Regions from separate parts of the Homo sapiens genome. Here region 2 is linked to region 1. The links are contacts of gene promoters, found by promoter capture Hi-C in blood cells and fetal thymus (Javierre and others, 2016). All regions are on one chromosome and are shown on one strand. The core of a region is centred on a gene start or on the middle of the fragment in contact, and the rest is flanking DNA. Distances in the headings are between cores, read along the strand shown.

Region 1 (2,832 bases), core at 208-2,707:
ACCTACGACAGCTCAGTGGTTGAGGGTGGGGGATTTTTAAAAGTCTCATTTACTGTTGCACAGCCTCCTGCAAACCGGTCCTCTAGATAGATGAGGAAGGTGAGGGCAATCTCATCAAGCACCTGTTAGGGTACATGCAGGACTTGAATTTCAGGTAATAACAAGGAATGCCTTCTTGTTCTCTGACGCACTGTCTATATGGTATTTTTAATCTTTATGCCAATAATAATTGCAAGTACATATAAAGCACTTGATAAGTGCTAAATATTGTTGCAAGCAGTTTACATGTAGTTATTGAATTCCCACAATACCCCTGAGGTAGGTACTATTACTAACCTCTTTCTACAGATAAGACACCAGGGCCTAAAAAGCTTAAGAAACTTTCCCAAGTCTGTAGTAACTGATGGAGTTGGGGTCTAAACCCCAATAGTTGGCTCCAGAGGCTATGCTTTTACTCATTACACGATAGTGATCAGAGGAAGCAGGAACTCCAGTCTGGGCAACATAGTCAGACCCTGTCTCTAAAAAAAAAAAAAAAAAATTAGCCGGGCATGGTGACCCATGCCTATATTTCCAGTTACTTGGGAGGGTGAGGTGGGATAATTGCTTGAGCCCAGGAGGTTGAGCTATGATTGTGCCACTGCATTCTAGCCTGGATGACAGAGCCAGACCCTGCCTAAAAAAAAAAAAAAAAAAAAAAAAAGGAATTGAACTGGGTGCCAGTGCCTGTAATCCCAGCACTTTGCGAGGCTGAGGCGGATCCCTTGAGCCCAGGTGTTGCAGACCAGACTGTGTAACTTAATAGCAAGACCCCATCTCCAAAAAAAAAAAAAAAAAAAAAGGAAGAAAAAAGAAAGAGAAAAAAGCAAACAACAACAAAAAAGAAGGAAGGAATTATTATTCTCATTGAAGAGATGAGGAAACTGAAACCAAGAAGCCAAGAAGCTAAGTAACTTACCCAGGGTCACACGGGTAAGAGGCAGAGTAAAGGTAGAATTCTAGTCCTGAAAGCCTATGGCTTCTCCCAGACAGGACCAAGTGTCCTGGTTCTCTTCTTCATGTGCAACTCCACTTACACAGGCCCACGAGTAGTAGGGCCAACCCAGAATCTCAAAACCCTTATTTGTGCTTAACTGTCTGCATACTGCAGGGTAATTATGGGCCGTGAAGGAGGGAGGCACCCTCTCGACTTAGATCTGAACTCCCAGTCGCTTCCAGTTCCCAGGACCACCAGCCCTGAGCCGTAAGGCTAGGCCTGAATCTGGGACTTTCTTAGCCGGAGTTAGAAGCGGAGGAGTAGGGTGGGACGCTGGACGGACGCCGCTGGGCCGGGCAGCCCAGAAACGCGGAGTGTCATATTTCTTGCAACTCGCCAATCCCGAACGCCGGGGGGCGTGGCCACACCTGGGAGGCGTGGCCGGGCGGATGCGAAGGCTGCGGCGTCCTGGGGCGAGGCGCTGACGTGAGCTCGGCGCACCTGGGCTGGGCAGGTAAGGGCTGGTGCGGGACGGGGAGAGGAACCTGCAGTCCCTACTTGGGTAGAGCCAGGCGCCCCTTGGCTAAGACGTCGAGGAGCGTGGTAGCGACGGGTGATCTTCGCTGCGGACTTGGTTCGGAGGGACGTCCGCTTCTGGTGGACAGATTGAGCAAAGGTGGGTACGCCAACTTCTGGGGACCAGCTTGAGGGAGGAGAGGCTCCCCCGTGGGTGGGGTAGGACCCATCCCCGGAGTTTGTAGGGGGTGAGAGAACTTGCTTGGGGGCATCTGTGTGTTTGGGGTGGGTACCCACTGGGGCTGGGTGCCTGTCGCCCTTTTCCAGATAGCTTTGGGGCGGCCTCAGTTCTGTAGCGCTAGGCCCCTCTCGAATCTACACTTGTGTCTACTCTCCCTACCCCCACCGCCGAAGCGGAGGGCACTGCTCTCGGCCGTCAACAACCCCACTATCCGGTAGAGCTAAAGCACCGCGCCCCCTTCAGTCTTACCAACTTGCGGCTGGCCCCTGTGTCCCAGAGAGGGGACTTCCCAGGTCCGCAGGTCCTTGATCCTAGTGGGCGTTTTGGGAAACTGGAGTGAGGGTGGCCAGGAGCTTTGGAGCATTGGCGGTTTGTCTTCCCTCCCTGAGTCTGTTTGGCACAGTTAGGCCCTTCGCCCTGGGCCTGGGAGACAACCTTGGATTTCCAAGGAGCGGAGCTAGGTGCTGGGGAGGGTGGCGCTGGGGTGTGGTTGCTCTGGGGGTGGGCCCTCTTTGCCCGAAGGGGCTGGAGGGTGGTGTGGAGAATGGGGAAAGTCTCCCAGGCCTGACTTGGAAAGGAGGCCTGAGGTGTCACTCTTTACAGGGAGCCTGCTTTGTGGTAAAGGGGTCATCCTGTTCCAACCTGTTCTCTTGGTGGATGTCAAGAGTGGAAGTCAGGGAAAAGAGATGGATAGAGAGAGGAAGGCGCTTGGGTGGGATTGGTGAAAGCTGGTGTTGACCCAGGAGTGTGGTTTAGGATGAGACGTGTGTATGATGTATGACAGTGGCACTCAATACCTTGTAACTCCCATTCGCCATCCCCCAGCTTCCATCCAGCAGAAGGGAAGGGTGTGGGCATTTTGACTAGAGGCCTGCAGTTTACCCCTAAGCAGGGCTAAACAGGGAAGCCTGAGGAACGGAACTTAGACGATGGCATTTCATTTCTTTCAGGAGAAAGGGAAGAGCTGGGACTGCTAAGAATTGTCTGCGAGAAATGGCGTGTGTTTTAACCTGAGCAAAACCACTGACGGCCAAATCTCGGCTTTTGTGTGGCAGTGCCCCTGGAAACTAGTCTGGGGAGGAGCTATGGAGGTGGCAAT
Region 2 (2,832 bases), core at 122-2,621, 520 kb before region 1:
ACTTTGTCCATGCTAGAAGAGGACCAACTGTTTGAGATAGCAAATGACCGGGCCCTAGAAGTATGTTTAAGACAACTTCAAATATCCATACATTCTGGATTAAAGTCAAGGCAAAGTATCCTGAAATTGCCACAAAAGCACCGAAAAGCCTGCTTCCATTTCCAACATCCTATCTTTGTGAAGCAGGGTCTTCTGCAGTGACAGCAACCAAAATGAGACTATGAAGTAGGCTGGACATAAGCAAACACACTTTGGGTGTCAATGTCTACCAACACACCCCCCCAGATGGGACTGCCTAGTTGCAGAAAAACAAGCTCAGGGGTCCCACTGATTCTACTCTATGGTGAGTTGTATTCATATTACAATGTAATAATAATAGAAATAAAGTCCACAATAAATGTAATGCAGGTGGGGCATGGTGATTCACACCTGTAATCCCAGCACTTTGGGAGGCCAAGGAGAGGATGGCTTGAGCTCAGGAGTTCGAGCTCAGGAATTTGAGACCAGCCTGGTTGACATGGTGAAATCCTGTCTCTACTAAAAATACAAAAATTAGCCAGATGTGGTGTCGCATGCCTGTAAGCTACTCCGGAGGCTGAGGCACGAGAATTGCTTGATCCCCAGAGGTGGAGGTTGCAGTGAGCCAGTATCGTGCCACTGCACTCCAGCCTGGGTGACCCAGCGAGACTCTTGTCTCAAAACAAATAAATAAAATAAATGTAACGTGCTTGAATTATCCCAACACCATCCCCCTTCCCCCAGTCCATGAAAAACTTATTGTCCATGAAACCGGTCCTTGGTGCCAAAAAGGTTGGGGACCACTGCTTTAGGGAACATTCCCCCTGGGCCAGGTCCTAAGCTGGAAGCAGGGGGTGCAGGTAAGGCCCATGCTCGCAAGTTCCTGATGCTACCTACAGAGCTCCCACCAACATCTGGCCACCCACAAAAACGGCTGCTCCCTCCAAAGAATTGACTTTCACCCTAAGTTCATCCATCTAACCTACTTCCAAGGAGGGGGCAAAGTAAACAGTAGATAAAGCACAGGCGTTGATCCAAAAGAGGAGTCCAAAACCCGGCCCTGACATGTACTAGTTTGTGGCTTTGGCTCCCCTCCAAGGCTTTCTCTATCCTACTGTGAAAAGAGATAACAACACTTATCTTTCCCAGTTACTGTAAGGTTTAGAAATAATGTATCTAAAGCACCTAATAAGCACACAGTCTCCTTAAATTAACATTAATTGAATCTCTCAGGTCAGAGCTGTCCTTATCAAACAATCACAATTAGGGACTGACTGGCAACGAGAAAGGAGGGAGAAAAATCACAGGGAAAATGGAACATGAGGAATGGAAGGGGAAAAAAATCATTCCTCAAAGTCTCCTTCAATGAACTACCGCCTCTTCAATGAAGCCTTCCCTCTCCTCTCCTTGCATTCCCATAGCACTTAATCACATTGAAATAGGTCCTTAGCTCTGAGAATGAATGAGATGCCAGGCACGGTGGCTCACGCCTGTAATCCCAGCACTTTGGGAGGTCGAGGTGGGCAGATCACCCGAGGTCAGGAATTCGAGACCAGCCTGGCCAACACGGTGAGACCCTCGTCTCTACTAAAAATACAAAATTAGGTGGGCGTGGTGGCGCATGCCTGTAATCCCAGCTACTCAGGAGGCAAGGCTGGAGAATCGCTTGAAACCGGGATGCTGAGGTTGCAGTGAGCTGAGATTGTGCCATTGCACTCCAGCCTGGGCGACCAGAGCGAAACTCCGCCTCAAAAACACAAACAACAACAAAAACAGAAAGAGAAGCAATGTCTCACTCCCACGTAATGCAAACCTCTGAGGATGCCAAATGCCCTAGCCCTACAACCCTGATCCAAGAGCAATGTACACAGGTAGCAGCACATTTCTTAACACCAATGCTACCCGTAAAGTACCTCTGGTGAGGATTAGCGGGAGGGTTTTTCCGCATAAAGACCTGCCACCTGAAGGTTAGACTCAGAACAGAGGAAGAAAACTGAGTCCTGAAGATAGAACGCAAAGGAAGTCTCTAACTTTAGAGTCCCTGGAGTCACAGCAGGCAGGCAGGCGCACCGCCGATACTGCCAAGAGGACCAGAGTTCGCAACTCCCCGCAGCAGTTCCGGAAGCTGGGGACGAAGCCAAGGAGAGAGGACGTGGGCAGGGCCGTGCGCGGACTTGTCCCGGCGCCTAGATCCCCGCCTTTGCCCGGGCGCACTGCGCGCGCGGCCCCCGCCGCTTTTGTCTTCTTCGCCCGACCGGGAACTTCCTCTGTCCCGCCCTCGGGCGCGCACACGGGAACTTGGGTAGGAAACGGAAAGCGTTTTGTGCATTTTTTTTTTAACAGAGTAAACTGACGCAGAAAATTCAGCATCTAACCTCCCCAGGACCCCCTATGGTCACCAGTTACCAACCTCCGGGCTGTCCCGGGCGGCGGCGACGGCAACGTTCACGCGCGCCGCGAGTTCCCAACACCCCTCTTTCGGCACTTCCGAGTCCCAGCGACATCGGCGGCGGCTGCGGGCTTCCCCGGGACGCCACCCTCTTTCCCCCGGAGCTGCCCTTTGGAGGAGCAGCGCAGCGCGCGTCCTCCGAGCACGCCCCTGCCGCCGTGCCCGCGCGCCCTCCGCGCCCGGACTCGGGAACCCGCGGCGCTCTCCGGGCGATGGCGAGCAGGCCGTGCTGCTGCAGGGGGCGGGCCAGAGCGCGGCCTGCGTTTCTGAACCGCGTTTGCCCCGCCGGCGGCCCGGGGCCCCTAGCCCCGCTCACCCCTCGGCTGTTGGTTCCCACTGACCCTGGCGTGCATATCTCTCCCCCA

The links. The method cuts DNA at HindIII sites, captures the fragments that hold promoters and counts their contacts. A CHiCAGO score of 5 or more calls a contact.
Region 2: a contact is called between a fragment that was not itself captured here and the fragment with the promoter of IRF6 in region 1, in 1 of 17 cell types (total B cells). The highest score is 5.5, in total B cells.

The regions. Positions count from the first base shown.
Region 1 is chr1:209,804,767-209,807,598 of GRCh38, reverse strand. It overlaps IRF6 (interferon regulatory factor 6), which reads left to right and starts at 1,457. Exons shown (of 9, transcript NM_006147.4): 1 at 1,457-1,652. RefSeq lists a silencer at 1,192-1,535. The HindIII fragment of the contact is 4,987 bases long and covers 374-2,832 here.
Region 2 is chr1:210,328,701-210,331,532 of GRCh38, reverse strand. HHAT (hedgehog acyltransferase) reads right to left here and starts at 2,631. Exons shown (of 12, transcript NM_018194.6): 1 at 2,429-2,631. RefSeq lists enhancers at 773-942, 2,055-2,414 and a silencer at 2,575-2,824. The HindIII fragment of the contact is 5,497 bases long and covers 1-2,832 here.